Regions from separate parts of the Homo sapiens genome. Here regions 1, 2, 3 and 5 are each linked to region 4. The links are contacts of gene promoters, found by promoter capture Hi-C in human tissues and cell types (Jung and others, 2019). All regions are on one chromosome and are shown on one strand. Each heading gives the region's core, a stretch centred on a gene start or on the middle of the fragment in contact. The rest is flanking DNA. Distances are from core to core; before and after follow the strand shown. Region 1 holds the start of PLTP (phospholipid transfer protein). Region 2 holds the start of ACOT8 (acyl-CoA thioesterase 8). Region 3 overlaps TOMM34 (translocase of outer mitochondrial membrane 34). Region 4 holds the start of DBNDD2 (dysbindin domain containing 2). Region 5 holds the start of ZSWIM1 (zinc finger SWIM-type containing 1).

The links. The method cuts DNA at HindIII sites, captures the fragments that hold promoters and counts their contacts. A contact is called where the count stands out against the background at its distance.
Region 1: a contact is called between the fragment with the promoter of PLTP here and the fragment with the promoter of DBNDD2 in region 4, in 1 of the 25 tissues and cell types used here (neural progenitor cells).
Region 2: the fragment with the promoter of ACOT8 here is called in contact with the fragment with the promoter of DBNDD2 in region 4 in 1 of the 25 tissues and cell types used here (dorsolateral prefrontal cortex).
Region 3: a contact is called between a fragment that was not itself captured here and the fragment with the promoter of DBNDD2 in region 4, in 2 of the 25 tissues and cell types used here (dorsolateral prefrontal cortex and spleen).
Region 5: the fragment with the promoter of ZSWIM1 here is called in contact with the fragment with the promoter of DBNDD2 in region 4 in 3 of the 25 tissues and cell types used here (IMR-90 fibroblasts, aorta and mesendoderm cells).

Annotation. Positions count from the first base shown.
Region 1 is chr20:45,910,905-45,914,308 of GRCh38, forward strand. It overlaps PLTP (phospholipid transfer protein), which reads right to left and starts at 1,251. Exons shown (of 16, transcript NM_006227.4): 1 at 1,175-1,251; 2 at 449-559; 3 at 248-347. The coding sequence starts at 548. The HindIII fragment of the contact is 16,312 bases long and covers 1-3,404 here.
Region 2 is chr20:45,856,136-45,859,835 of GRCh38, forward strand. It overlaps ACOT8 (acyl-CoA thioesterase 8), which reads right to left and starts at 1,257. Exons shown (of 6, transcript NM_005469.4): 1 at 1,053-1,257. The coding sequence starts at 1,180. ZSWIM3 (zinc finger SWIM-type containing 3) reads left to right here and starts at 1,479. Exons shown (of 2, transcript NM_080752.4): 1 at 1,479-1,845. The coding sequence starts at 1,691. The HindIII fragment of the contact is 14,613 bases long and covers 1-3,700 here.
Region 3 is chr20:44,942,537-44,945,963 of GRCh38, forward strand. It overlaps TOMM34 (translocase of outer mitochondrial membrane 34), which reads right to left. Exons shown (of 7, transcript NM_006809.5): 6 at 917-1,043; 7 at 1-677. The coding sequence ends at 573. Among named protein-coding and RNA genes, the nearest start is that of TOMM34, 16 kb to the right of the region's middle. The HindIII fragment of the contact is 5,142 bases long and covers 1-3,427 here.
Region 4 is chr20:45,406,403-45,409,880 of GRCh38, forward strand. DBNDD2 (dysbindin domain containing 2) reads left to right here and starts at 1,887. Exons shown (of 3, transcript NM_001048225.4): 1 at 1,887-2,204; 2 at 2,399-2,536. The coding sequence starts at 2,066. It overlaps SYS1-DBNDD2 (SYS1-DBNDD2 readthrough (NMD candidate)), which reads left to right. Exons shown (of 6, transcript NR_003189.2): 4 at 2,058-2,204; 5 at 2,399-2,536. It overlaps LOC107985404 (a long non-coding RNA gene), which reads right to left and starts at 1,487. Exons shown (of 5, transcript XR_007067608.1): 1 at 1,347-1,487; 2 at 1-30. RefSeq lists an enhancer at 475-1,024. The HindIII fragment of the contact is 23,713 bases long and covers 1-3,478 here.
Region 5 is chr20:45,879,402-45,882,678 of GRCh38, forward strand. ZSWIM1 (zinc finger SWIM-type containing 1) reads left to right here and starts at 1,826. Exons shown (of 2, transcript NM_080603.5): 1 at 1,826-1,860; 2 at 3,132-3,277. The coding sequence starts at 3,192. RefSeq lists enhancers at 1,536-1,585, 1,836-1,915. The HindIII fragment of the contact is 12,007 bases long and covers 1-3,277 here.

The DNA.
Region 1 (3,404 bases), core at 1-2,500, 500 kb after region 4:
CTGGTCCTGCTTCCTTCTTGGCCCCCTCTACATTTTCAAGGCCACGCCCATCTGCCTGGTCCCGCCTATGATGACTGGCTTGGCCTTTATCTTTTCGGCCCCATCCGGTTTCTTAAGTCTTGCCTCATCGATTTGGCCACGCCCCATCCCACTCAGCCTCCAGTCTCCCGAGACCCTGAGATTTCTCGGGCCCCGCCTCCACCGCCGAGGCCCCGCCCCGGATCGCGAGGCCCCGCCCCCCACTTACTCAGAGATGTTGTAGTAGAAGTGGCCTTCTTTGCCCCGCAGGTCCGGAATGGTGATAGTCTCCAGCTCTTGCTCCAGAAAGCGCAGCCCCTCCTGCTTCACTGAAGCAGCAGAGAAACCCTTACTTAGCTCCCGTGCCCACTGTTGGGGCGACCCCAACCCCGTCCGCTCCCGTCCGTCCCTGTCTGCCCCTGCGCCTTACCCAGCTCCAGCGCCTTGGAGGTGACGCGGATCTTGCAGCCTGGGAACTCTGCATGTGCGCCTGCCAGCAGCGCTAGGAAGAGGGCCCCGAAGAGGGCCATGGCGAGCGGGCCTGGGGGTGGGGTGGGGTCGCAGGAGTTATCTGAGCCGCTTAAACCCATTCCTTGGACGTCCAACCATAAGTGGGAACTAGCCTGGATCGTTACCCTCCAGATAACTCTTCGGGGAACTTGGAACCAATAATCTTGCCTCCATATGGCAGATGTGGAAACTGAGGCTCAGAGAGGCGATGCGACTTGCGTTCTGGCTCCCAGAGGATTTGGGACACGGGGGAGGGGACGTTCCCAGTTCCCTCGTGCTACCGCCGCGTGATGAGTTTGGACCTCCAGGGGACCAGCCCCCACACCCCCAACAACCTCCCCTTTCCTTTAGCGGTGGGCCCATGCAGGCTTGCACGTTGCCACGGCAACGACTGCACGCGCATTCTTGGAGGGTGGCTTGCGGTCTCCTAGGCCTCGCGCCCGGGGAGGAGAGGAGGTGGCCGACCAGACCGTGGGCTCCCGGGTCTCCCGGCTCCCTCAGGTCCTAAATCTCTCCCATTAGAGATTCTGCCTGGAGCCCCCATGTTAGCGTTCTCCTTCATCGGCTCTCCTCCCCACGCCGGCTTCAGTGCACCACGCGGCTCGGCGAGGGACTGGGAACGGGATAGGGACGCGCCCCAACTCACTCAGCGGTGGAGCTGGGGGGCGGCGCGGTCACGTGGGATGGCGGGCAGCTCAGGGGATCCGGGCGACGGGGTCTGGCGGGCAGGGTTGTTCCAGCCGCCTTTATAAAGCCGGCCTCCCCGACCCCTCCTCCTCTCTGCAGCTCTCCCCTCCTCCCTTGGGGGCTGGGAGGGGACGGGGCGGGACGCTGGCAGCCGGGAGAGTGGAAAAGGCTGCACAGAGCCCCGTGACAAGCCCGGCCGCTGTCTGGACAAGTGGGAGACCCAAGCCCAGGGAGAGGGAAGGAAATGCAGGAGCCGGCCCACTCAGCCCCAACAATCCCACTTTGCTGGGACCTTGGTTCAAATTACAATTATCCATGTCTTCCTGCATGATCTTGGGCAAGTCACTTCACTTGGGTCACTGACCCTCAGTTTCTTCCTTCAGCGAAATGTGCACGATGATAGGAACTACCTCTTGGGCCTTTATTACAACCAGGTCCAGGCACAAAGTCAAGGAATATTTTTTCTTTCCCTGCCACCCACAATCATCTCGGGACCTCCTTGCCTGGCTTTGCTATGGGCCCCCCTACCTGTCTCTGTGTCACCACCTGGGGACCTTAAGGTCCCAGAGACCTTTCCCACTTGGGAAAGCAAGACTAGACAAGTGCTGTCAGCCCAGGAACATACCACACCGGCTGAAATCAGAAGGAGGTCTGCCATTTATCGTGGCTGGTGGATTGTTTTTTCTATTTTTTTTATTTTTATTTTTTGAGACGGAGTCTCGCTCTGTCCCCCAGGCTGGAGTGCAGTGGCGCGATCTCGGCTCCCTGCAAGCCCCGCCTCCCGGGTTCACGCCATTCTCCTGCCTCAGCCTCCCCAGCAGCTGGGGCTACAGGCGCACGCTGCCACGCCCGGCTAATTTTTTTTGTATTTTTAGTAGAGACGGGGTTTCACCGTGTTAGCCAGGATGGTCTCGATCTCCTGACCTTGTGATCCGCCCGCCTCGGCCTCCCAAAGTGCTGGGATTAAAGGCATGAGCCACCGCGCCCGGTCCACTGGTGGATTTTTTAATGAACCCTTGGAGCAAGGTGCTCTGAACAGCATCCCCGCCCCCACCCCCACCCCCACCTCCATCTACTGCTTACAGGGTTCCCGGACCCTAGGACAGGGCACAGAGTGGGTGCTTGCCACCTTTTTGTTGCCAAATGGACGAAAGAAAGGGGAAGCAATAATCATGTCTGCTGAGCATGTATTTAGCACCAAACACTCATCTAGGAAGGATGACTAACTCATCCTGATTTGCCTAGGACTTTCCCCATTGTGTCTTTTTTTTCTGATATAATCCACAGATTCACAAAAATAGTTCCATTTCCTTTTTTATTTAATTAATTAATTAATTTTTTTGAGACACAGTCGTGCTCTGTCACCAGGCTGCAGTGCGGTGGTGTGATCTTGGCTCACTGCAACCTCTGCCTCCTGGGTTCAAGTGATTCTCCTGCCTCAGCCTCCCAAGTAGCTGGGACTACAGCCATGTGCCACCACACCTGGCTAATTTTTGTATTTTTAGTGGAGACAGGGTTTTGCCATTTTGGCCAGGCTGGTCTTGAACTCCTGCCCTCAAGTGATCCGCCTGCCTTAGCCTCCCAAAGTGCTGGGATTACAGGTGTGACCCACCATGCCCAGCCTATTTATTTATTTTTATTTATTTATTTAAGATGGAGTTTCTCTCTTGTTGCCCAGGCTGGAGTGCAATGGCGCAATCTCGGCTCACTGCAACCTCCGCCTACCAGGTTCAAGCAATTCTCCTACCTCAGCCTCCCAAGTAGCTGGGATTACAGGCACCCACCACTACGCTCAGCTAATTTTTTGTATTTTTAGTAGAGATATGGTTTCGCTATGTTGGCCAGGCTGGTTTCGAACGCCTGACCTCAGGCAATCCACCTGCCTTGGCCTCCCAAAGTGCTGGGATTACAGGCGTGAGCCACCGCGCCCGGCCGCCTATTTATATTTTTAGAGACAGGGTCTTGCTCTGTTGCCCAGGCTGGAGTGCAGTGGTACAATCACGGCTCACTGAAGCCTCCACCTCTTGGGCTCAAGCGATCTTCCCACCTCAGCCTCCTGAGTAGCTAGGACTACAGGCAGGTGGTACCATGTCATGTCCAGCTAAGTTTTGTATTTTTTGTAGAGACAGGTCTCACCATGTTGCCCAGGCTGATCTTGAACTCCTGGACCCAAGTGATCCTCTTGCCTT
Region 2 (3,700 bases), core at 7-2,506, 450 kb after region 4:
CGCTTATGGTCCCAGCTAAACGGGAGACTGAGGCAGAAGGGTCACTTGGGCCCAGGAGGTCGAGGTTGCAGTGAGCCATGTTCGTGCCACTGCACTCCAGCCTGGACAACAGGGCCAGATCTTGTCTTCAAAAACAAAAATCAAATAGCCCTCCAAGAAGTTATTTACAATTCCTTAAGTGGAAGGAAGGGAGCTCAAAGTAAGATAACTTCCAGTAAAGCCAGGAGAAGCCTTGGAGGTCAAAGCTGTTAGAAGCCTTGCTGCAGGGGGCTGGGCGCGGTGGCTCATGCCTGTAATCCTAGCACTTTGGCAGAGGTGGGCAGATTACAAGGTCAGGAGTTCGAGACCAGCCTGGCCAACACGGTGAAACCCCGTCTCTACTAAAAGAAGTTAAAAAATTAGCTGGGCTGTGGCGCGCCTGTATGTCCCAGCTAATCAGGAGGCTGAGGCAGGAGAAATGCTTGAACCCGGGAGGCGGAGGTTGCACTGAGCCGAGATCGCACCACTGCACTCCAGCCTGGGCAACAGAGCAAGACTCCGCCTCAAAGAAAGAAAGAAACCCTTGCTGCAGTCAAGAACTTCAGCGATGCTGGGAAAGAAAAAAACATGCTTAGGCCTCAGAATAAGTAATGAGAAACCAGACCCACCAAATGGTACTGGGGGCGGGATATTGTGAGAAGAAAAGGATACTGAAGACACAAGGAGCTGCGGCGTCGGTTTTAAGGCTGATCCATCAGCTGTGTGCCCTTGGGCAAATCACTGCCCTCTCTGGGCTAGCTCCCCCGTGAAGGCTTAGGGCAGGCTGCCGAGCAGGGTCTCTCAGGTCACCACTATATTTGCTCAGCTGTGCAGACCTCGCAGCGCGGAGAGGAAGGGAGGAAGCCAGAGCAGAGAGGACAGCTCTGTTGGGGGCGAGTTCTCTCCTAATCGTGGCAGAGGGTGCATCCCACGCAGAGCCATACTAGTCCCGGAGCCAGGGGCCCCGGGCGGCGGCAGTCAAGATCAAGTTTCTGCCCTAAAGGAGGGGATGCTGGGCAGGAGCTGCCGGCTACCTGAAGAGATCCTCGTCCAGCGGCTCGAGGTTGAGCACGGTCGTGACCAAGACGCTACGGAGGTCCCCAGGGGGATCGCCGCGGTCGCCACAGCCCTGCCCATCTTCTGGGGCCTGCGGGGACGACATCTAGTTCAATGCTGCAGGCCCTGCACACCCGCTCCGCGGAAGACGCGGAGACATACACAGAACCTGACTCTTCCGGCAGATTGCCCTAGTAACCGGAAGTCTCCTGCAGACCCCGGGAAGGAGGAATCTAGGTTATGATTGGTCAGGACTCCTGTCAGTCCGCTGGTGGCTGTGGCCCTCTTTCTCTAGCAATTGGAGAAAATGAATGCCAATCTGCGAATCCTGTGTGTGACTGGATATGTCGCTGAGGAGGCGGAACCTCGGGACTGGATAATATGGACTGAGTGTCATTTCCCCTGTCAGATAGCAAATACACCCCCTTCCTCTTGTAACCCGGTCAGGCCTAGGGTTCCTCCCTGAGTTCCAGAATAGGCCACCCAGTTGGGGCGGACCCTTAAGGCATTCTGGGCCCACGCCTGCCTATAAACCCTCATAGTGTGACCTTTGACCCCTGGTGTGATCTTGGGCCCGGGCTGGGACCAGCCCCTAGTGTGGGTTGTGGGGGCGGCCATGGAGCTGGGCAGCTGCTTCAAGACCTATGAGGACTTCAAGGAGTGCTTCAGCGCCTACAAAAGGGAGAACAGGTGCTCCTTCATTCTCAGGGACTGCGTCTCCGTCCGCTTCCACAACCTCAACCATGGCACCTCCATCCGCGAAGACATCCTGTAAGGGCGGGCGGGGCGGGGCGGGCCAAGAGGGTGGGGAGGAGGCTGGACCTCCGGAGGGCTGCCTGGAGGAGGAGGGGTGCATAGGCACGCATTGGGCTGCGTGGCCATTCATTCAACAGGCACTCATTGAGCACCTGCTGTGTGCCTTGTGAAGAGAGCTAAGCCTCCACGGCCATTGGTTTTTGACCACCCACTCCACTTTCACTCCATTCACAGGCTTTTCTGGAATTTATAACTGCAGTTTCTCCCATTGTTTTGAGCAGCTGCAGCAACCCAAATACAAAGTATGGCTTTCATAAACGGATAAAAACACCTTGGCGATAATTTCCTTCATCAGTCTCCTCTTTACAAAACAGTCACATGGTCGTTGGAATGTTCGTTCATTCATTCATTCAGTTTTTAGTTCTTATATATTTGTTGAAACAGGGTCTCACTCTGTCCCCCAGGCTGGAGTGCAGTGGCACAATCAGCTCACTGAGCCTTCAACTGCTGGGCTCAAGCGATCCTCCCACCTCAGCCTCTCAAGTAGTTGGAACTGGAGGTGCACGCCACCATGCCTGGCTAATTATTTGATTTTGTACAGACTGGGTCTTGTTATGTTGGCTAGGCTGTTCCCAGACTCCTGGACTAAGCGATCTTTCGGCGTCTCAAAGTGTTAGGATTACAGGCATGAGCCACTATGCCTGGTCTATTCATTCATTTTGTAAATGGTTTTTGAGCTCCTTATATTAACCGTTTTCAAACACTTTCCATGTGCCAGGCAGTGTTCTCTATGCATGCTTTACCCTGCAGGGCTTTTTTTTCAGAATTATAGATAAATGTTATTTTTTTGCATTTGACAGATGAGAAGATTTGACAGATGAGAAGTCAGGCTTAGAGGTTAAGACAGGAGTTGAAAACTCAAATGCCTTCAGGGATTAGGTGAAACAACCCAATGTAAGAAAGTTTTAACTTTGAATTTTACTTTAAGAAAAAGAATGATGAAATAGCAACCAACACCAGGTCTTTGTGCTAGGGACAACAGAAGTGTGAAATGGGCCAAATGGAGAGTAGATGCCATCTAATCAGCTCCAGCTGATGGCTGCCATATGAAAATAAAGATCTAGTGTTGCCAGAATTTTGGGCAAGAGTTGTCAGAAATCCACACTTTATGTGGATTTTCCCATTTAAAAAAATTGAATCAGTTCAAATTTTAACTCAGAGCATGCGGGCCAACTCAGAGTTAAAGCATATCCGAGTTTGAGACTTGGATTGAGATGCTCAACCAAAGCTCCTCAATTAGACAGCCAGGCTATATTCTTTCCACTGTTCTGAAGTCCAGTGCTATGCTGGGTATAGGTGACATAAAGATGAATAAGTGTTCAAACTATCCCCAGAGAACTAGGATAAACTTGAACTCAAGCAAACTGGTGTGTGATAAATGCTTTAAAAGGAATGTGGAAAAAAAAAAAAAAAAAGAAATGTACGGAGAAAGAAATGAATGACAAATGCCTGGGAGGTGGGGGAAGTCTTCACACTGGAATTGATGGTTTCCCTGGGCTGTGAATGAATGTAGAGTGCTAGAGTAGATCTGTGGTTAATTACTGAGTACCATGGAGGCATTTGACCAGAAGTTGCTGTGCAGAAGGACCTACAGGAGCAAAGACAAAGATACATGAAAGAAGGTTGGCATGTTAGAGTAACAGTGAGGGATACCATGTTTGGCAGGAGATGAAGTCATTTGCAGTCTAAGGGTCTTTAGGGACCATTGTGAGGTGTTTGGACCTTGTCCTTTATGGGTAGGACCTTGCTAAGCAATGAGAGGAATACAAAAAAAAAAAAAAAAAAAAAAAACCACAGTTGCCCGTAAACA
Region 3 (3,427 bases), core at 317-2,816, 460 kb before region 4:
CGAACAGAAGGCACTGGGGCTCAGACATAGGAGACTGTGCAAGGACAGGACAGGGCAGGGACAGCAGCTGTACACCTGGAGAGACTGCAGCCCTGGAGAACCAGCTCAACAGGCTGCTTTGGATCAGGGCCTTAGGTTTATCCCCCTCCTTCCACCCCGGCCCAGGAGCTCAGGTTGTTCAGATGAACTGCAGTGAGTTGGGGTCTGGGGAAGCTACAAGGGCAGCACTCAGTCTGCAGCCCACTTGGGCAGGACAAAGCCAAATGCTTTGCTGATGAGGATCTGTTGGTGTGATCAGCTAGCTGGGCTGGGGGAATAGGGACAGAGCTTCAGCTTCACGCTTAGCTCTAGTGGGGACCTTTCTGGTGCAACAACCATGTCTGTGTTTGACTACACTGAGTTTAATTTGAACAAGCAAAGCCTCTTACAGGGTGGGAGGCCATCAAGGGATTGAGGAGGGGGCTTCAGAGCTCACTTGGGGCATGCTGGGTTTCAGGAGCGGGCACAGAGCAGGTGGCCCATGGCTTCTCTGGGTAAGGTCAGGCAGGGGTTCCAGTTGCCCTGTTGGGTTTTTAGTGTAGGTTCTGCTTCACTTCCTGCCGCAACTTCTGTGCAGGACCATTCCTAGGCTCAATCTGTAGGAGGTTGCTGATGTCTGCAAAGCTGGATTTATAGTCCTAATAGAAGAAAAGACAGGAGTGTGGGGGAAGGTTCCCGGACTGGGGTGGGGATAGCTGCTGAGGCAGCAAAGTGTTTTCAAACCCCAGCCCACAGGCCTGCTCTGAGTTATCCTGGGCCCAGGATGAGAAGGAAAAGCTGCAGATATTGTCTCAGCTTGGCTACACCCTGTAAATGGTGACACTGGCATAAATCTCTGTAGCTATGTTGGGACCTTTTGGCCAGGATTTTTTTTTACCTTGAGTGCTTTGTGGGCTTGAGCCCGTCTGTAGAATGCCTTCACGTTCTTTCCATCCAGCTTGAGGGCTTCTGTGCAGTCCTTCACTGCTTCTGTGTACTGCTTCAGGACCAAATAGCAGAGTGCTCTGAAGGGAAAGACCATTTCAGAGGTTTCAGTCACGTCTTATGGGCCACCCACATGCCACGCAGTAGTTTGAGAAGTGATCTCCAATTTGCTGAACACCTACTCTGTGCTGGTTACTTTATGTCTTCTTAAATCCTCACAACAATCCTAGCCCTTTTCATGGATGAAACATGCTGGCTCAGAAGGGTAAAGGAACTTGGGCCAGGTACCGCCAGTATTAAGGGGCAGACCCAGGATTCAAATAGGCGGGCGTTCGTTCATGGGACTCCAGATCCTGATCTCATCTAGTTCTATCATGCTGTACTGCGCTCTCCTATACTGAGCTCTTTCAAGCAAAGAAAAGGTTTCCTGAAACTTTTCCCTTGACAGATTAAAAAATTATCTACTTTAAGGGGGAAAAAAAAACCCAACAACTACTGAACTCTAATGATATAATGCTGACATGGGGTGAAATGTAAAGACGTTTGCAATTTACTTTTAAGTGCATCAAACACAATAATACAGACCAACAGATGGCTAAATAGTGATAAGGCAATGTAATAATACTAATTGTAGAATTTAGATGGTAGGTCTATGGGTGTTCAATGTACAAATCTTTCAACTTTCCTATATTTTGAACATTTTCATAATAAAATGTTGGAAAAAAGTTATGTGCATCCATACAATATATTCTGCATCTGTGGGTTCAAAAAAGTGCATGTGTGTATATATCTTCCTCATTCAGATCTAGTCCTTCTCTCCAAAGACAGTCACTAAAAACAAAACAGTCAGATGTCTGGGCGCTCATTACATAAGTTCATCTGTTCCACCTCACTGTTTTCAGTGGGTGCAGGGTATTCACTAAGTTGGATGTAGCATAATTTATTTTACCAATTTCCTATCAAGAGGTATTTTTCATTGTTTCCAGTTTGTAAATAAGTGATGCCATGATGAACATCCTTGTGCAAGGGACTGCTGTATCCAAAGATACATGCATTTTAAAACCTGACTGGCCAGGTGCAGTGGCTCATGCTTATAATCCCAGCACTTTGGGAGGCCAAGGTGGGAAGGTCACTTGAGCCCAGGAGTTTGAGACCAGCCTGGGCAACATAGGGAGACCCCATCTCTTAAACAAAACAAAACAAAAAAAGAAATAAAATCTGATTGTTACTGCCAAAATGCTTTCCAAAAAAGCTGAATAGTTATTGACAGAGCCTATTTTCCTACAACTGTACCAACTTTGGGTCTTAAATTTTCATGTATGCCAATATGGAATAAAACACTATCTCACTGCCTTAGCTGCTTAGTTGTGGGTAAAGCTGAACATCTTTAATAAGGGTTTTTAATCTTTTGAAATCAAACTTCTCTAACTTTTCCTTTAACGACTTCTGTAACATTTTTTTCCCTTCACATAAGAATACCTTCCCCACTGCAAGATAGTTAATCCATGTGTTCTTCTAGAACTTAATGGTTTCGCTTTTTACATTCCAAACTGTGATCCACTCAGAACTTACTTTAAAATAAGAAGCAAGGTAGGATTCAAGTTTAACTCTAACCTGGCCAACCCAACACCTCTTATTAAATAATCTCTCTTTGCCCCAGACTTTATTATACACCAGATTCTCTCATGTCGTTGTTCTCATTTTTTTCTGACTTATCATGAATTTAAAGAAGAAAATTCTACTAGTCCTTTGTGATTGCATGGAATTCATAAATTAACGGAGAGAAAAATCTTCTTGTAACAACTTAAAAGACAGGCACAAATTCTTTGGCAATCCTCCACTGAGAGGCGGAGGTGTATCTGCTCTCTCTCTTTGAATTCGGGCAGGCTCTGTGACTGCTCTGACCAACAGAGGACAGAGGAAGGGACACGATGTGACTTCCAAGGTTAGGTCATAATAGGCCTTGCAGCTTCCACCTTGGTCTCTGGAAACACTCGCTCTTGGAGCCTTGAACTGACAGGGAAGAAGCCAACTACTCTGAGGCCACCACGCTCTCAGGAAGCTCACAGCAGCACACATGAAAAGGCTGCTAAGAAAGTGGAAAGAGGTGCCAGCTTGCTCTAGCAGTTCCATCACCCAGCCATTTGAGTCAGGCAGCCCAGCTGCCAGACATTCGAGGAAGAAGGCTTTAGAGGATTCCAGCCCCAGCTACCATCTTGCTGACCCTGCATGAGAGACCCCAAATGAGAACTGCCCTTCCCTAATTCCTGACTCCACAAATTACAAGCAAAATAAAATGGTTGTTGTAAATCACCAAGTTTTAGAATAGTAGCCCGTTTTAAACTTTGAACACAGAAGAATTCCTTTTTTTTTTTGGAGACAGGGTCTCACTCTGTCACCCAGGCTGGAGTGCAGTGGCATGATAACAGCTCACTGCAACCTCCGCCTCCTGGGTTCAAGCGAT
Region 4 (3,478 bases), core at 637-3,136:
CGGTGGCGAGGGTGGTGCAGAGGAGTCCGGCTGGGCGGAGGGAGGAAGGATGGGTGCGGGTAACTTTTTGACCGCCTTGGAAGTACCAGTAGCCGCGCTCGCAGGGGCTGCCTCCGACCGCCGGGCGAGCTGCGAGCGAGTGAGCCCGCCACCGCCCCTCCCCCACTTCCGCCTCCCGCCTCTTCCTCGTTCCCGGCTCCCAGGGCCCGTCGGTCCCCCGGGAGCCCTGGAGGCGCAGCCCCACCCCGGCCGGCGCGGCTCGCTCCCACGCCCCCGCCGCGGCCTCGCTGGAGCGGACGGACTGAGTCAGAGGGGGCGCCAGCGCTGCAGGTAGGGGCTCCGGCGGCGGTGGGCGCAGGTGCCGCGGTGGACCGCGGAGGGGACCGGAGCACGAGGGGAACGGCCTTGGGGGAGCGCCCTCCCCCCGTCCTCCGCCGACGCCTCGTGTCCCTTTTTAGGGAATTTTTTCCCTCTTGCTGGCTCCAGTGCGGGTGGGGCTGAGACCGAGAGGGAGTTCTCCATTTCGCTGGCTCCTGCCCGGCCCCTGGCAGCCTCCTGCCCCCAAATCTCTTCACCCCCTTTCCAGTACCTATAGGTCGCGTAAACAACTCCCTTTCTCCAGCTCTGGGCTCCGCGGCCCCCCGGGGGACAGCTCCTTCAGTCTCGTGAGATCGGTGGGGTTAGGGGGAGGGGAAAAGAGAGGGGGTGTCCCAGAGCCCCTGGCCCCCGTCAGCTCCCCCACCTTGGCCTCTCCCTCCCCCTCCTCGCTGCTGGAGCACAGGCTCCAGGGGCCCTGGGTATTTTTAGCGTTGTGACCTGGGCGGCAGCTCTAAGAGCCTTTCCCGGGAATCGGCGTCAGCGCCTCGCTCCTCCGCCGCCAGCCCGCGGCCGCACGGTCTCCCCAGACTTCCGTGGCCCTGCCTTGGCCAGTCGGGGTTGGGTCCCTCTCCACCTCTGTGGCGCCCGTGGAGCTGGCCAGGGTCTGGGATACGCTGGGTGCAGATGAGGTGGGGAAGGCAGTCTGCGGAGGATGACGTCTGATCCTCAAGCTAGAAACTCCCTTGCCTCTGGTGATGGGCTCAGAGCAGAACGCCGGGAAGGAGATGAGCGAATGGGAATGAATGCACCGACCTGGGCTGGCCCATAGCCTCAGTGCTCTGGCAGGGTCTCAGCTTCTCAGCCCTAGGGGTCAGGAGGCCTGCTCTGAACTGGACCCAGAACCCGCCTTTCCAATTGCTCCTCACTGACTAATGGGGAGATAAGTCAGTGAGATGTGTCCCAGGAGGGGGACGCATAAAGAGCTGTTGGAGTTCAAAGGAAAGATGGTAGTCTCCTAAATAGCTCACCTTCACAAGCAGGGTCTTGTATTTGAGGCAGGTAGGTTGGTTATGCCATTTTCAGATGGGGAGACTAAGACCAGAAAGGTGATTTCCTTAGGGGCAGAGCCTAGTCTGGAAGTCAGGCCTGTGACTTCAGAGCAAGGGTTTGGGGTAGATGGCACATGCGTGTGTACGTGTTTGTGTGGGTGGAGAGAAAAGGAGGGGCGCGGGAGGAGTTGCTTTAGCCTTTGTCTGGGTTTTGAAGGATGGGAAGGGGTGGGCTGCAGCACTGGAGGAAGGGAACCCTCCACCCTGAGATCTCTGTCTCTATCCTATCCTGTCCCTGGCCTTCTGAGGCAAGCGGGGCCAATTAAGGGGAAAACGTACCTCCTCCATTTGTGCTGAACCAATCCCTCCAACCCCTCTCAGGAGGGCATGATATGGAGAGTTGGGCATTGGCTGTGTTCCCTGAATACAGAGTATCTCTCTTGTGGTGCCTGGAACTGGCATCCCCTTTGTGGAGCTTAGGGCAAGCCCCGCCTCTGCATGAGACTTGGTTTGTGGGACACACTTGGTTTCAGGGAAGGGGAAAGAGGTCACCAAGGGCAGAGGTGTCCAGGCCGGAGCCAGGGGCCCCACTGTTGGGATGCTGGCTGCAGTGGGGCGCCCCAAGCCCAGGTCCCCTCTGTCTTCTCTTTCGACTTTGCAGCTGTACTTGTTTTGCTCCTCTACCCGCAGGAGCTGACATGGACCCAAATCCTCGGGCCGCCCTGGAGCGCCAGCAGCTCCGCCTTCGGGAGCGGCAAAAATTCTTCGAGGACATTTTACAGCCAGAGACAGAGTTTGTCTTTCCTCTGTCCCATCTGCATCTCGAGTCGCAGAGACGTAAGTCCCAAGTCCTGAGAAGAGGGACTGGGGTAGGGTAGGGAGGATGTCCTGTGGGTCCTGAATCTTGTGGCACTCTCTCCCCTCTGGTTTTCTTGGCCCTCTATGCTTCTAACTTGGGACCTGACATGTAACTCTCACTGTCCTGGTGTGCAGCTTGGGTCCTCCTGACTTGCCCACTTCTTGATCCGCAGCCCCCATAGGTAGTATCTCATCCATGGAAGTGAATGTGGACACACTGGAGCAAGTAGAACTTATTGACCTTGGGGACCCGGATGCAGCAGATGTGTTCTTGCCTTGCGAAGATCCTCCACCAACCCCCCAGTCGTCTGGTATGCCCCTCTGCTTTGGGGACTTCAGTGCCAGTCAGCCAGAGCCGGATGTCAGGCTCTGAAACGAGGCTACAAGGCTGGGCTGGGGAAGTACACAAGTAAGGGCTGGAAGTGGGTGTTTCTACCAATGAAACAGCTGCCTGTTCTGATTTTAGGGAAGTTGACCCTGAGGGAGAACTGGGTTACACATCTCTAATCCAAAATTCTGGGAACGGTCAATCTCTTCTTTAATTTTACATTTGTTATATTAATATAATTAGTCACTATAATTAAAATAATGTAAAATTGTAATTTTTATATTTGGCAACTTAAGTAGTTTTAGTCATTATAATGATATTAATATGTATTGAGTACTTTAGTAGGTTCCAATACTGTACTAAAGTACTTTACATATATTATCTCAATCCTTACAACGTCCTGTCAGGGTAGGTGATATAATCTCTATTTTATAAGCAGGAAATTAGGCTCAGAGAAGTTAAGTCACATTGTAGCCAGAAGGTAGATAAACTGGAATTCATGTCTGTCTGACTCCAAAGCCCATATGCTTAACTTGTAAGATAGATATTCTTTTAATTAAAACTGCTACTATTTATTGATGGCTTACTATGCCAGACATTTTATAAGCATTCTTAGGTTTTATTCCCAAAACCCTTTGGGGATGTAGGTATCCCTTTTATTTTGCAGAGGAGGAACAGAGTCCTTGAAAGGGAAAGTGACTTGCTCAAAGCCACTCAGCAGCAATAAGTGATGTAGGTGGAACTTGAACTCTTGCCATTCATTGACCTGACTGTAGATCCCAGACATGGTGTAATGACGTGGAAGGAGCTGGCAGTCAGGAGATGGTGATCTTAATCCTGGCTCTTTGCTGGATTGGCAAAGTCACTTTGGACAAGTCTCTGCCCCACTGTGGACTTTAGTTACTCCTGGCCAGATAATCTTTAA
Region 5 (3,277 bases), core at 576-3,075, 470 kb after region 4:
GTAATCCCAGCTTCTTGGGAGGCTGAGGCAGGAGAATCGCTTGAACCCAGGAGGCGGAGGTTGCAGTGAGCCTAGATCGTGCCACCGCACTCCAGCCTGGGTGACAGAGTGAGACTCTATCTCAAGCAAAAAACAACAACAAAAAAAAAAGAAAAGAAAATTAAGTATTAGCAACCTAATGGGGTTGTGGAGCCAAATAGAACCTGATGCCTCACATTCAAGGATTTGGCAATCTGCGTCTTAATTTGCCTCCTTCCTACAACTAAGCCTTCAAGGTTGATTTCAGGTTTCCTTATATTCTAGCGGGAAGAGGCCAAATAGACTGGAGGGTGTGGGGGAAAAACCTGAATCTTAGACTTGACTGCCAGCAACTTGCTGGGGAACTGTGGGCAATTTCTTTGACCTCAGTTTCCTCTGTAAAAATTAGCATGTTGGCCTGTTCTAATCCCAGATTTCCCCTCTAGGTTTACATAAGCACCTTTTTGTTTTTTGTTTTGAGATGGAGTTTCGCTCTTGTTGCTTGTTGCCCAGGCTAGAGTGCAATGGCAGAATCTCGGCTCACTGCAACCTCTGCCTACTGGGTTCAAGCGATTCTGCCTCAGCCTCTTGAGTAGCTGGGATTATAAGCATGTGCCACCACGCCTGCCTAATTTTTTGTATTTAGAGATGGGGTTTCACCATGTTGGTCGGGCTGGTCTTGAACTCCCGATCTCAGGCAATCCACCTGCCTCAGCCTCTCAAAGTGCTGGGATTAAAGGGATGACCTACTGCACCCAGCCCAATAACATTTTCGATGCGTAAGTACCAACACTGATTTGATGTTGCTAGTTGGTAATCTTAATCCTCCAAGGCCTGGTAAACACCCAGTTTTCTAAGTCTGCCATCTTCAAGGGAACTGAGGACAAGAGACCAGTTAGTAGGCCCTTGCACTACTGTAGTAGGACCCTAAATAAGTCATGGCATCATTCTGTAGAATACTGGAGGGGGTTGGGCTAGAGAATGCCAAGTTTTGGCTTGTTTAAGGGGATCTGGATTTCCTCAGCTCTAAAAGTTGGGCTCCTGATCCCCGAAGGAGGAGTAGAATTTGAGACCTGGAACTCAGTTTCCCCATAAGGTAGAATATGCGTTATGACTATATATGCACTGTTTCCTAAATTCCAGGGGCTTTAGAGTTTCACACACACACACACAACAAAACAAAACCCGCGGTGGCTCACGCCTGTAATCCCAGCACTTTGGGAGGCTGAGGTGGGCGAATCACGAGGCCAGGAGTTCGAGACCAGCCTGGCCAACAGGGTGAAACCCCGTCTCTACTAAAAATACAAAAAATTAACTGGGCGTGGTGGCGGGTGCCTGTAATCCCAGCTACTCAGGAGGCTGAGGCAGGAGAATCATCGCTTGAACCTGGGAGGCGGAGGTTGCTGTGAGTCGAGATCTTGCCACTGCACTCCATCCCAGGCGACAGTGCGAGACTCCATCTCAAAAAAAGAAAAAGAAAAAATATATATATAACTGCTATTTATTTTCCTTTTCATTTTCTGCTTTTGAGGGAGTTTCCATAGTAACGTGTCCTTCCAGTCGCCTAGCCTGAAGGGAAGCCCCGGAGCTCCAGCTTCAAGGCTCAGCTCTCCCAGATGCAAGTATCTTTACCTCCAGCCAGCTCCTTGTAACCCTGGCAACACGGCCCGCCCGCGAATCGTCACGCTACGATTGGTCCGTGGTGCTAAAGCCTGAAAGCGAATTCCTCAGACATTGGTCCGAGTCACTGCGATGCTGACGCTGTGGTTGGTGAGTTTGGATGTCAGTCAGAGTCGGAGGCAGGGTCAAATAGGGAGAAATGGCGACGGAGCCTGGCTGTGGGTGAGTGCTTCCTGAAGGGGTGAAAGTGTGAGACAGCGGATCACCGCAGTTAGCCGTCACACAGCTCCCAAAGGGATGGGAGGGAGGTTTTCTTCTCATCCGGCTCCAGCTGGACTCTGGGAATGTCAGACATCCACATCTCCCACCCAGGTTAGAGGTGAGAGGTCAAAGGCCGTATTCCCTCTGTTGGTTTTTGGACCCCAGGTACTGTGGACAGCAGTCAGGATCCCGAACCAAAGACTCAACTTTCAGCTACTTACAGAGTAATGGTGGGCAAGTCACTTAGCTTCTTTGAGCCTTAGTTTATCATCTGTAAAATGAGGACAGTAACTCGGTCTGGGGCCAAATAGAGGAAACAATGGAATAGAGTATTGCTGCTAAAAGAGGGATATAGTAGAGGCAGGAGAAGCTATGCACATTTGTTAGCCATATTTTATGGTGGAAGGGATTGAGGCTCAGAGAGGGTCATTGACTTGCCCAAGATAACACAGCAAGTTTGGAGCAATTGCAGTTCTCTTATACATACCAGGACCAAAGGAAAGAATGGATGCCAATCAGTCATTTATAAATATAAAATCGTATTTTTATTTTATTTTATTTTTTGAGACAGAGTTTCACTCTGTCACCCAGAGCTGGAGTGCAGTGGCGCAATCTCGGCTCACTGCAACCTCAGCCTCCTGGGTTCAAGCAGGTCTCCTGCCTCAGCCTCCCGAGTAGCTGAGACTACAGGCATGGGCCACCATACCCGGCTAATTCTTTTTGTATTTTTAGTAGAGACGGGTTTTCACCATGTTGGCCAGGCTGGTCTCGAACTCCCAACCTCAAGTTATCTGCCCACCTTGGCCTCCCAAAGTACTGGGATTACAGGTGTGAGCCACTGCACCTGGCTAGAATGCTATTTTTTTAAAAGGCCATATGCAGCTCTGGCCATACCTATTTAAATCCCCTGGAACCATATCTTTCCATAGCTAACTTCTTATCATTTAGATTTCAGCTCCAATGTCATCCTTCTCCCCTGAGAGGCCTTCCATTACCACTTTAACTAAAGTATCCCTCCCTTCCCCAGCTTACTCTCTGACATGTTACTCAGGTTTATGGTCTTTGTAAGCTTCATTATTGGATATATATTTGCTTATTTGTTTACATGTTTATTGTGTATCTTCCCCTAGAACAGTGCTGACATATAGTAAGTGTTCAACAAATATTGTGTGGATGAATAATTGAAGAGCCAGGTCCCTGCTGTCTCCTTAAACCTCTGTTACTCTCCATAGGCCCATCTTTGGAAAAAAGATCTGGGAATGATTGTCTAGCCTCCAGCCTCAACTTACTTGATGCTTGAGAGACTCAAAGCCCCGTGGTCAGCTGCCCTGCAAAGAAAGTATTTTGACCTTGGCATTTGGACAGCTCCCATCTCTCC